Linked DNA regions of Homo sapiens: region 1 is linked to region 2. Evidence: promoter capture Hi-C in 16 types of primary human blood cells and fetal thymus (Javierre and others, 2016). All regions are on one chromosome and are shown on one strand. Each heading gives the region's core, a stretch centred on a gene start or on the middle of the fragment in contact. The rest is flanking DNA. Distances are from core to core; before and after follow the strand shown.

Region 1 (6,563 bases), core at 3,184-5,683, 72 kb before region 2:
CACTTATATATACTTACTGGTCCCTTTGGCAGTGGATATGAGAAAGGCGTATTTGCAGATGGCATAGGCATGGGCATGGGCATGGGCATTGGCACCGTTCCATCAGGTCCACCAACTGGTGCTGTGAAGCCACCACTCCCTCCTCTTCCAGGGCCTCCTTTCTTCACATCATCTGTGAATCCAACATCAATAAGATCTGTCTCTACCCCAGGAGGAGCTTCTGCCTGAGAAAAAAAGAGAAACCCAGGTCATTAACCCATGTCCAAGGCCAGGTTCCCCAGAAAGCGGAGTCTGAGATGGAGATTAGCATAAAGCAAGTTTACTGGAGTGCTTCTGGGATCAACACCTGTGGGGGAAGAAAAGGCAGAGTTAGGTGGAAGGAGAAGTTGGGCTGCAACACAGTCACAACAAAGGCCTCAGCCAATTCCCCAATGACTTCTGCAGCTGGAATGGACCTGATGGTGTTTCCAACTGTGGGTAATAGGGATGTCTGAGCAGTACACACCAAAGCATCCACCACACCCCACTGACCTTAACTGGCGGATGGTTTTTTTTTTTGAGACGGAGTCTCACTCTGTCACCCAGACTGGAGTGCAGTGGCACAATCTTGGCTCACCACAAGCTCTTCCACCTCCTGGGTTCAAGCCATTCTCCTGCCTCAGCCTCCCGAGTAGCTGAGATTACAGGTGCCCACCACCACACCCAGCTAATTTTTTGTATTTTTAGTAGAGACAGGGTTTCACCGTGTTAGCCAGGATGGTCTCGATCTCCTGACCTTGTGATCCGCCTGCCTCGGCCTCCCAAAGTGCTGGGATTACAGGCGTGAGCCAGCCACCGCACCTGGCCAACTGGTGGATGATTTTTTATCCCTGTATCCTCAGCTTTCTGTGCACTATCAGACACATGGTGGGTACCCAATAAATGTTTCGGGAACTGTTTGGGTCTTGGGGCATTTCTTGCTATGAACAGGAGGTTTCTCAATTCCTGAAGTTCACCAAAAAGTAGCAATAATAGTGCCATTTTACATTTGTATCAAGGTTTTGACCTTCTCAAAGTGTTGTCATTCATCTAATTCCTTAAGTACCCTGTGAGATATGCAGGCACATTTATTGTCATAAAGGTACTAACTGGACAAAGGCTTAAACTCACACAAATTTAAGTTAGTGCAAAGAATGTTTTTTTTGTTTTCCAAAGAAGGTCATACCTACAAACTCATTTTTCTTTGTATTCTGGGATAAACTTACCATGACCACAGAGTCAGGTTCATAGGGTACGTTGTAATTCTTTGCAATTTCAATCAGGTATCTCTCCACCAGGATTTTGGGTGGGGCTTCCACACTCAGCTTGTGCATTAGCTGTAAGTAAAAAGACCCAGGGCTAAGATGCATGTATACCAACCAGCCTAATCCTCACCTCACTATGCGAAGTTAGCTCCTCTCATTTTACAGGTAATATTGAGGGAAAAAAAGGTTCAGAGCAGTTAAATGATTTTTTTCAGAGTCACAAGACACATCAGAGGACCCAAGTCTCTCTTTCACATTCTCATTACACATGACCCAGATGCTGGCAAAAGATGATACTGCTGCCTTCCACAGTTCAATTCATCCACCCTTCTCCCCACCTCACTTCCAACCTTCACAAATGACACGAGGCATACAAAGTGGGGAAGTGGAGTCAGGAATGACAGTAACCAGAGGAATTGGGCAGGTGTAAGGATTGGACCACACTGCCAGCCACACAGCTGTCCTCCTCACCCCACTATGAAAGGTGAAACCCCATACTGAGCAATACAGTGGTACCCACTAGAATTGCCACAAGCAGTACAATAAACTGCTCCCACACACTGCCTTCATGTTTACCAAGTATGTTCATTACCCTGTCATTCACAGTTCCAATCTGGTTGGTCCTACATAGCTTGCCATATTCCTTGCTATACTTGGCACAGAGCTGATCAGCAACCTAAAAAGAAAAAGGACAGCAAATAAAAATAGAGACCACTCCAACGGACTGCTTTAAGCTTCTTCCTGGCAACAGTAAACACGCGTCTATTACAAGATTTCCAAAACACTGGAGTCTGCAAAACCTTAAGGGGTATGCATTAATCCACTATTTGTTCATCCATCCATCCATCCATCCAATGAGCAGCACTCGAGTGCCAAACACTATCATGAGTATTATACAATATAAATAAAATGAACAAAACAGATACTGTTCTTACTCTTATAGAGTCTTACATTAATCAAATTGTACAAAGTAAAGTTTCCTCTTCAAAATTTCCCTTGTTAAAGAATAAATCATAAGTGTTAGAAATAAGCTTCTTTTAAAAGACTAACTTCCTTCAAGCCTCCTTGCTTTGTGCTAATAACTCTTTGTTAAGCCGTATCCTATGTAGCTGTTAAATATAAGAAATACATTCTATGTCCTTGTACTTTAACCAAGATATCTGTGCTAGATGTGCTCACAGGCAAGTCCCAGCTCGCAGCCTATGCCCCTTCCTTATTTGGGAATGTTAGTACTTTTCTAAGTCTTCTCATAAGCAAGTTCCTCTTTTCCTTTGTTCTCCCTTGCATATATCTATTTTAAAAACTTTTAAAACCTTTAGCCAAACGGGTGTAGCCCAGACTGTGAGGTCCAGTTCCAGCCAATGGAATCAGGACACAGCAGTAGGGTCCAGATGTGTAGGATATAAATATTTTTACCCCCTTTGTTCAGTGTGCGCTCGCCATTGTTCCATCTGCAAGGAGCACCCTTTCTGCAGAAGGTAAAAATTGCCTTGCTGAAATAAATTTATATTTGAGTGCTATTTCTCTGTGGCACTGGGGAACAAGCATTTCTAACAAAATAATCACACAGATAAAGGTACAACTGCAACTACAGTAAGTGATACCAAGGGAAGGTGCACCATGCTATCACCAGCTTCTAACAGCAGAATCAAATCTGATCAGAAAAGTCAGGTAAGGCTTCCTGAGGGAAGTGATGCTTTGCTGAGATTTAAAGGATGACTAAGGCCAGGCATCGTGGCTCATGCCTGTAATCCCAACACTTTGTGAGGCTGAGGCAGGCTGATCACTTGAGTTCAGGTGTTCAAGACCAGCCTGGGCAACGCAGCAAAACCCTAGTCTCTATTTTTAAAAGATACAAAAATTAGCTGGGCATGGTGGCACGCACCTCTTGTCTCAGCTACTCAGGGGGCTGAGGTGGGAGGATGATCAGTTGAGCCCAGGAAGCCGAGGCTGCAGTGAGGCAAGATCGTGCCACTGCACTCCAGCCTGGGTGACAGATCAAGACCGTCTCAAATAATAAATTAAAGGATGACTAGGAGTTAACTAAATAGGGAAGGAAGCACATTCCAGGAAAAGAAAACAGCAGTGCAAAGGCCTCTGGCAGAAACAAACATGGTCAGTTCTCAAGCCTGCAATCAGCCAGTGAGCCTCTAGTGCAGAGGCCAAGGAGTGTGGTAAGAAATGAAAAAGGGAAGTGGGAGCCAGACAATGCAGGACCATGTAGGCTGTATCAGGGAGTTTTGTTTCTATCACAAGAGCAACAGAAAGCTACTAATGGGCTTTAAAGCAAGAGGTCGTGACAGGATCGGAGCTGTGTTTTGGACAAAACCCTCAGGTGGTTCTGATGGAATGGTGTGAATAGATTAAAAGAAGCCAAAGTAGGAATAGGAAGAATATTCAAGAAGCTACTCTCATTTCCAGACAGGAAACGACAGTAGCATTGGACCAGAGTGGTCCCAACATTCCAGAAGCCCAGTAGGAGAGTTCTCACTGTTCATTATGAAGACTTTCAGGGGTACCTGACACCTATGATATAAATGGCATTTGTCTTTTATGGTTTTTGTTTTGGCTGGTTTATACTACACAGAGATTTTTTTATTCACATTAATTTATCACTCTGTTTATGGCTTTTGAGTTTTGTAACATATTTAAGCCTTTTCCAAAATTAATTTTAAAGGAGTACAGAAGAGACCAAAAACGGCTCAACATGGTGGCTCACGCCTGTAATCCCAACACTTTGGGAGGCCGAGGCAGGCGGATCACGAGGTCAGGAGTTCGAGACCAGCCTGGTCAACATGATGAAATCCCGTCTCTACCAAAAATACAAAAAATTAGCTGGGCATGGTGGCGGGCACCTGTAATCCCAGCTACTAAGGACGATGAGGCAAAAGAATCGCTTCAACCCAGGAGGCAGAGGTTGCAGTGAGCCAAAATTGTACCACTGCACTCCAGCCCAGGCAACACTGCAAGACTCCATCTCAAAAAAAAAAAAAAAAAGCCTACATAAGAATCAGTTGCCTCTACTGTCCCTCTTCTCTGCCCACAAAACTCAATTACTATCCCTGGTACCCTATTGGACTATTGGAAGTTTATTCTCTGGGGGGAGTTAACTAAAGCGACTCGAGTCTACACACAGGAGACAACAGTGATACTTACAACAGAAGAATTAAGTGTAAGTCTTCTATGTATCAAATAGATTTTTGGCTTCCTTCTCCACTGGGCTCTCAGAAATGCTGGCAGCCAGCTTATACACTCGACAGAAGATAGGAGGATTCTGGAGAAAACGACCAACCCAAGGAAAGATGACTAGTTCCTCACAGTCTGGAATTCCTCCAAATAAGAGCTTAACCAGATCACTCAGCAATGAAGGCATCTGGCAGTAAAAACCCACCCATGCACACGAGAGGTTCCAATCTCCTTTTTAGTGCCTCACTCTTAAATGTAAACCGACAGCCAAGGACCACTAAATCTTTGGAAAGCCTCTACTATAAAACTAAGAAATAGGAAAAATGAACTTGAGAGAAACAAACATGACAGACGTTTAAAAATAAACCATAATTAATATCCTCAGAGACTTAGAAAAAATTGTAGCCATGAAACAAACCATAAAAAATATTCAGAGAATTAAAAAGAGCTCTTGAAAAAAACCTAGAAAAGAAGGAAATCTCAGTAGATGGGTTGAGAGATAAGAATGACACAGTCTCCTAGGAAATAAAACAGAAAGGCAAAGATGTAGAAAATAGAAAACAACACAACTGAATTTGTATCCTAGGAGTCAGTACCATATCCATGTTGTGATGTGCAATTTTCTGGTTAATGTCTGTCTCTTCTGCTAGACTCTAAGCTACAGGAGTATGGCTGGTGCCATATTTTGTTCACCACTGTTACCCCCAGCACTTACATAGCTCATACAATTTATTTAATAAATATTTGTGGAATTAATAAATAAAGCAAAAACATCTGTCACCTTAATGTTATTTTAACTTTACTGGTTTACAGTTGTATAAGAACTTTTCTATTTGCATAGAGTTAAATAACATTAAGACAAAACTGGAGATACACAAAACTTTGCTCCTTAAAAAAACTGCTCAAGTTTGCAAAACACTGTTCTATTCTACGATATAAGGCTGAAAGGGAGAAACAAATTTACAAAACCTATTTCAAAAGCAACATAAGAATGGTACAAAATATCTGGTCAAATCAGCAGAAGTAACTTATATTAACCAACCTTTCTAACAATATGAAAAGCTACAGACATCACTGAAACTACTTGTACTCACTATTTTCAACTCAGCCACTTCTGACTGGAGTCGAGGAGCAGCCCAGATCAATGTAGACACAGATTCAGCCAGACCAGAATCTAGTTCCCTAATCAAGGAAAAAAATTAATATAACATTCTTTAAAACAAACCAACAAAATCCTAGCTTTTGTTTCATATACTTTATAGCCTCCAAAGCCATTCTGTGAATCTCACTAGATTCTCACAATAACTCTAGGCTTCTAGCCATTTTCGTGATCTTATTTTACTTTTGGAGGAACTCAAAACTAGGCAACAAGCTCAAGGCCATGAACTCGGAAAATGGTCGAGCCAAGATTCAAATTTAGGCTTCTCAGTTTCAGATTCTGTATTTTCTTTTTAACAGGCCTTTCAGCAACTGTTAGGCAGCAGATCCTTGGGCATGTGAAATAGTCCCTTAATGCAGAAAGAGATCATATTACTCCTTTCTCAAATTCCAGAAATGATTTAGGTCTCTGAATCAAAATATCTTACTTCATAGACTGGATAAGGCCAAACCGAGCCAGCAGCAGGTCACAGTACAGCTCCAGGATCTCCATGGCCTCCACGAGGTAGTCTTCCCGGATAATGTGCTCCACACGGATCCGAGCTCGTTCATCTTTCCCAGCAGCCAGATAGTCAGCAATCTCCTTCCTTGCTTTCTGGGCCAGTTCCGCTAAGACACAAATCCCACTCCGATCTCACAGCAGTAGAGCACTTGCATCTGGCCTACAGGCCAATCTCCCCCCAACAGGAAGAACTGGGTGTTTCTACTATATCCTAGCTCCTCTCCTTTAGCAAATCTAATCCCATCCCCTCTACTGTAGAATTTGCTACTCTGTCTAGGTGAGAAAATATAGCTCATGTGGCTTGACATTTCCAACTCAAGAGTCAGGTGACCTAATGCCACAACAACAGAGTATGTCCCTTTCTCTGCAAAAAAGGTACTCAGTCTAAAAGTCACAAAGGGCAGAAATGGATCCAAAGCTTAAAAGATATGATC
Region 2 (5,941 bases), core at 2,991-5,490:
GGGGACTCGGTAGGAAATTAGGTGGCACAGCATAGGGAAGGCTATAAGGAGACCCAATGAACTGCAGCGAGGTGGATGGGAGCTGAGCATAGTGGAGTGGAGGATAGTGGATGCCTGGATGTTGAATTAGTGAAGACGCTACATTAAACGTTGGGGGCAAGGGACTCATATTCACCACAGATGGGAGTCCAGTTGGTGAAAAGGTGGCAGGCGGCACAGCCACCTTATACAGCATGCCATACTGGTCCACTGTCAGACCGGTGATGGCCTCAGCTCCATCACCCCCCAGGCTGACTCTGGCTCCTGCCTGGCTCTGCCCAGCCACCACAACCCCTCGGGACCATTCAGAAGCATCACTGGAGGGTGTGTGGTTAGTGGAGCAGCTGGTAGTTCTCCCCATATCCTCGCTGGTCACGGGGAGGTCTCGTTTCTTTGGTGGAAGGCATTCCTGACTCCTTTCATGAACAGGTTTCATATTGCTTTGTGGTGTTCCTGGAGCCTGGAAGGAGTCGACTTGCTCCCTGGGGCATCAGAAGGGGCTTCTCTGTAGCTTCCCTGTACCCCTCTCTGCTTCTGGCTGGGGCGCCCACATCTATTAGGGAACAAATCAGAGGCAAAGAAAAGTAACCTAGGGATGAGCCAAGACAAAGGAAATAGAAAGAACTGTGCCATGGAGGAAGATGTAACAAAGGGGACTGTTAGAAAATAAGGAGGAAAGAGAAAGGGGCAGACAAGGAGGCTACCCCCAACTCATCCAGCCTGGGACATGAGAGAAACAGTCGGGGAAATCACAAGGCACAAAGAGCTACAGGGACACGCATTCACCAATGCACAAATAACCTGTGGGCTCCACAAGCCCAGGGAGACCAACAGCTTCACGGTTAGTCATGTGTCTCATAAGCACCTTGTCTCTTTTCTGCCTTCTTCCCAAAGGGGGCTTTGAACACATGGTCTTTCCTGCTGGCTCTTTTGCTTTTTTTTTTTTTTTTTTTTTTTTTTAAAACACATGGAGTTTTGCTCTTGTTGCCCTGGCCACAGTACATGGTGCAATCTCAGCTCACCGCAACCTCGCCTCCCGGGTTCAAGCAATTCTCCTGCCTCAGCCTCCCAAGCAGCTGGGACTACAGGCATGCACCACCACGCCTGGCTAACTTTGTATTTTTAGTAGAGATGGGGTTTCACCATGTTGGCCAGGCTAGTCTCGAACGCCTGCCCTTGGGTGATCCGCCCACCTCAGCCTCCCAAAGTGCTGGGATTACGGGTGTGAGCCACAGCGCCCAGCCTCCTGCTGGCTCTTTTTCTTAAGTTTCTCCTTTTGCTACCAAACATGAATGTGCCACCTTCTTTCCTGAACATATGACCTCATCCTTGCTTCCTTTCTGTAGCCTAATTTGGGTTATGATCTCACCTACTGCTATCCCAAGCCTGGCTAAAAACTCTCTTCCTCCTTTGCCTCATCTCATCAGTACCTCAAGGACCTAGGTGCCAAAACCCTCAGGTCTGCTCGTGTTTTGTTTTTTTTTTTAAGACTTTGCTCCCTAACCAGGTTATGAAAATTAACATCTTTGACCCATGAAATAATACATTTTAACTCAGCCTCTATATAGTGAAAGTGATTAAACTAGTTTGCTGTCAACTTGTTTCTCCTCTTCACCAAAGAACAACAAAATTCTAAATTCTTCTGACCTTACGTACACTTCCGGTTCCCTAGTCTCAAAAGGCTTCTTCTCAATGATCACCTTCAATTTGCCTTCTCTATTCATTCCCTTTCTTTTTTCTTTGTGCTTTCTTTTACCAATAGCTCCTTCTCCACTGTAGGTCTGCTCCAGGCACCACTCCATGAAATTCTGGTTCCATTCCTCTAAACATGCCTGTTTTTTTCCCCGTATCTGTATGATTCATAAGAAAGTTCTCTTTCCCTTTTCTCTTATTGTCACCTTTCACAAATGCTTTTGTCCATTGTTATAAAGCAACTTTTTGGTCTGAACACTTCAGTGCACATGAACTTTGCTGCCTATTTCTTCCAACCAGGTTCCAGTTCTTTGGATCTGAAAAGAGCTTTCTATATTACATTCTGTTCTGTTTTTCCACTGTGACATCCCAGATATTTTCCTGAAACAAGGAATTCAAAGTGCCGGTATTACCTGAGTTTCCAGTGGTGCTTCTGAGCAGCTGTAGTAAGTGTCCTCCCGGCTGGCTCGGGAGCCTAGAAGATAGAAACAGGAATGGAGTAAGCGGCTGCCTGACCTCTAATTCTCCCCAGGGTCACCATGAAAGGTAATTCCAAAGCATTAGAGTATACACGTCCTTGCCTCATCTTCTTCTCCACAGGTAAACAGTACATTTACCCAGAGTGCCCAGGCAGTTGAACAGAGAGAAAAACACCTCTAATGCTCCAACTTGTAAGAAGACATCCCTGAAAAAAAATTTCCATGTATCAAATTTCATTGGTTTTCCGTAACATCATTTCCCTAACATCTACCTGTGCCTGTTCCCCAAAGGTTAAATTTGCTCCAATCCAAATTTCAGATAAACGCACAAATAAAAATGGAAGCTTTAACACTGTTCCCATATGAACAATGGGAAGCAGGAAAAATCAACTCTATGGATTTCCCCTTTATTCTGGGCCTATGAAAACATAAATGTGGAGTTATTTAAATGAAAAAAAGCAGCAGTAGATGAAAAAGAACAATTATTTATGTTTCTGGGGCAGAAAAAGAGGTCAGGGGGGAGTCACTCAAGGAGAAGACTTATTAAGAGATTTTCAGGGTTAAAAAAAAATGAGCATATGTGTGTGTGTATGTAAAATTTTCTGAGTGACAGTATACCAAGTGCTGAATCAGGTATGAAAGAAACTGAAAATATTGCCTTGGTCCTCAGCTGGCTAACACTGGTGAAACAAAACTACCACTAAACCATCACTATGTGAATCTACACTTGCCAGAAACGCAAAGCGAGAAAGAATGGAGCCTTAACCTCTGAAAACAGAGAAGGCAGTACAGATGAGTGAGTGCTCTGAGAAACTGACTATCCTGTCCAAGTCCTATAGAACACTCTAAGCCTCAACCCAAACCGAATGCAACATTTCTCTCTTAAGATTGGCAAGGTGCAGGTGTACACAAAAGGTGGAAGGATAGGAAAACACAGTGGGAAAACAAATTCCTAATTCCACAAACACATATTATTACACAGTGGCATAAATAATGACTCTTTTCTCCACCAGCAGCTTTAATAACTGAAAAGCAGCTTGCTTTCTTCTTCATTCCCAACAGAAACTGGGGTCACACTTCAATCCCAAAATGATCCTTGCTTTCTGTAACGAAAACTTTAAAGAAAACCTGCCTCCAGGTCACCGAGAAGTTAGCAAACACAGGCTAGTAAAGGGACCGAAAGAGGCAAAAGGTCTGCAGAAAGGAAAACAAAGAGCCAAGCCTGTGCGCCAGGTTCCCACAACGCAAAACACACTTAAGAATCCGAAACCTCCGCCTCTCGAGAACCTCACTGAGCATCTCAAAGGGAAAACGCAGCTTGTGACCCCAACCGAGCTAACAGGCTGTTCAGGAGAGTTGCCAACGCTGCTAGCAGAGCCCGGAACCAAGCTCCTCATCACGCTTGGGTCGGAATCAAGGGGCTGAACCCAGCTGGAGACCCAAATTCTCTGCGGGCGAGAGGTGCGCCCGACAGAAAGGGAGAAGCTTGTCAGAGACTACGGTTATGGCTCCCAGTGGTCCCGCAATCCTTGATCCAACAAGGGTAGGGCTCGAAATTGGGAATTCTGCGTTTAGAGAGTAGGGGGTCCACCCTTCACCAAGGGGGCAGGGGCGAGGCCCTGCAGGCGACGCTTCCTTGTTTGGGGGCCCTTCCCGCCCCACAGACTCGGACACCTTGGCTCGCAGGCACACAGCCTCCGGGGCGCCGGGGCCTGAGGCCACCTTCCAGGACAGGCCAGAGAGAAGCGCGAGGGGGTCTAGGTGCGGCCTCTCCCCTCCGTCTGTCCACGGTTCATGGGCCCCGGCCCGCCGGAGCAACGGGCTCCTGAGGGCCACTTCCTCCGGAGCACCGACCCCAGGCCTGCCTGGCCCCGGCGGCCACCACTTCCAGGGACACTCACCAGCCCATTTCACAGCGCTTCCCAGGATCCACTCACTCGTCCCGGAGCCGCCGCAACCGCGGCCGCCGCCATCCCCGGCCCCGGAGCCGCCCCACACCCAGCGCCCCCCACAGCCGGGCGCCCGGAGATGGCGTCAAGCTCGTCCCGCCCCCGGCGCGGAGAGATTGCGTCACGGCCGGGGTGGGAGAGCAACGCCCAGGACTCCCCGGGAAGGGAGGGTGCCACACTGCCTTCGCGTCGGGCGTTCCCTCTGGTGGGTGAACAAACTCCTCTCCCTGGGACCGGGTCACGTGAATAGGGCTGGGCCCGGCCCCCTCAGCCTGACCCCACAATGACCCCGCAATCTTTCCACCTCAGTAAATTTTGGGGGTTCCCAAACAGAGCCCCGGGGCGTGGTCATCGGCGACCCCCCATTTCCTGGACTTCTTGTCCTGACTTGTGCAGCCCCTTCTGGGGAACTTCGGGGGACCCCGAGGTGACCTAGGCTCAGGAGAAAAGGAGATACCTCTTACCTCTTGGGGACCCAGGTGGAGATAGGAAGTCTTCTTTTTTTCTTTTCTTTCTTTTTTTTGGAGACAGTTTCGCTCTTGTTGCCCAGGCTAGAGTGCAATGGCACGATCTCGGCTCACCCAACCTCCGCCTGCCAGGTTCAAGCAATTCTCCTATCTCAGCCTCCCGAGTAGCTGGGATTACAGGCATGCGCCACCACACCTGGCTAATTTTTTGTATTTTTAGTAGAGACAGGGTTTCTCCTTGCTGGTCAGGCTGGTCTCGAACTCCCGACCTCAGGTGATCCCCACACCTCGGCCTGCCAAAGTGCTGGGATTACAGGCGTGAGCCACCGTGCCAGGTCAATAGGAGCTCTGTAAGTGTTGAGAAGTGGCCCCCGAGGGAGCTAAGAGTGAACCCCACTCAGGATCTAGGGGAAGGTGACAAGGAGTGGAACACCTGAAAGTTTAGAGAGAGCCCGGGGTTTAGTACAGTGAGAAGCAGCTTGGTTTAGTGGAAAGAGGGCTTGACTACTCAGTGAAATATTATTCATTACAAATTAACTAATTATTCATTACAAATTAACTGGTCAACTTCATAGTAACATGAACATCTGATTAACTTAAGTGAAGACAAAAGTGAGCGCCAGTTGAATTTATGTTTGAATAACAACTGTGTTTTTGTTGTTGTTTGTTTTAAAGTATTAGGTTGGTGCAAAAGTAATTGCGGTTTTGGCCACCGAAATGGAGACTTTCAGTTTCTTCAAACTCTGTTCAATAAATAACAATTGGGCCAGGCGCGGTGGCTCACGCCTGCAATCCCAGCACTTTGGGAGGCCAAGGCCGGCGGATCACGAGGTCAGGAGATCGCAGACCATCCTGGCTAACACGGCGAAACCCCGTCTCTACTAAAAATACAGAAAATTAGCCGGGCATGGTGGCGGGCACCTGTACTCCCAGCTACTCGGGAGGCTGAAGCAGGAGAATGGCATGAACCCGGGAGGCAGAGCTTGCAGTGAGCCGAGATCGTGCCACTGCACTCCAGCCTGGGCAATAGAGTGAGACTCCGTCTTAAAAAAAAAAAAAGAAAAAAAAAGATATGTCATTGCAGTTGCGTGTATGTGTGTGTGTGTGTGTACATATAATTTTTTTTTTTTTTTAGCCCTGTCGCCCAGGTTAGAGTGCAGTGGTGCCATCTTAGCTCACTGCAGCCTCAAATTCCTGTGCTCAAGCAGTCCTCCCACCTCAGCCTCTGGGGTAGGTGCGATGATAGGCATGCACTACCATGCCCAGCTAATTTTTTAAAATTTCTTGCAGAGACAAGGTCTTGCTATGTTGCCCA

What was found. Contacts are between HindIII fragments. The CHiCAGO score rates a contact against its expected background, and 5 or more counts as called.
Region 1: a fragment that was not itself captured here is called in contact with the fragment with the promoter of ATXN1L in region 2 in 3 of 17 cell types (total CD4 T cells, activated CD4 T cells and total CD8 T cells); the score reaches 6.1 in total CD4 T cells.

What each region holds. Positions count from the first base shown.
Region 1 is chr16:71,916,135-71,922,697 of GRCh38, reverse strand. IST1 (IST1 factor associated with ESCRT-III) reads right to left here. Exons shown (of 10, transcript NM_001270975.2): 3 at 6,056-6,236; 4 at 5,564-5,651; 5 at 1,876-1,959; 6 at 1,245-1,355; 7 at 18-224. Among named protein-coding and RNA genes, the nearest start is that of IST1, 24 kb to the right of the region's middle. RefSeq lists an enhancer at 3,186-3,365. The HindIII fragment of the contact is 4,233 bases long and covers 2,317-6,549 here.
Region 2 is chr16:71,844,275-71,850,215 of GRCh38, reverse strand. ATXN1L (ataxin 1 like) reads right to left here and starts at 4,240. Exons shown (of 3, transcript NM_001137675.4): 1 at 4,112-4,240; 2 at 2,145-2,206; 3 at 1-592. The coding sequence starts at 475. RefSeq lists enhancers at 3,753-3,822, 3,624-4,395, 4,613-4,662, 4,396-5,168 and a silencer at 4,043-4,352. The HindIII fragment of the contact is 5,556 bases long and covers 3,698-5,941 here.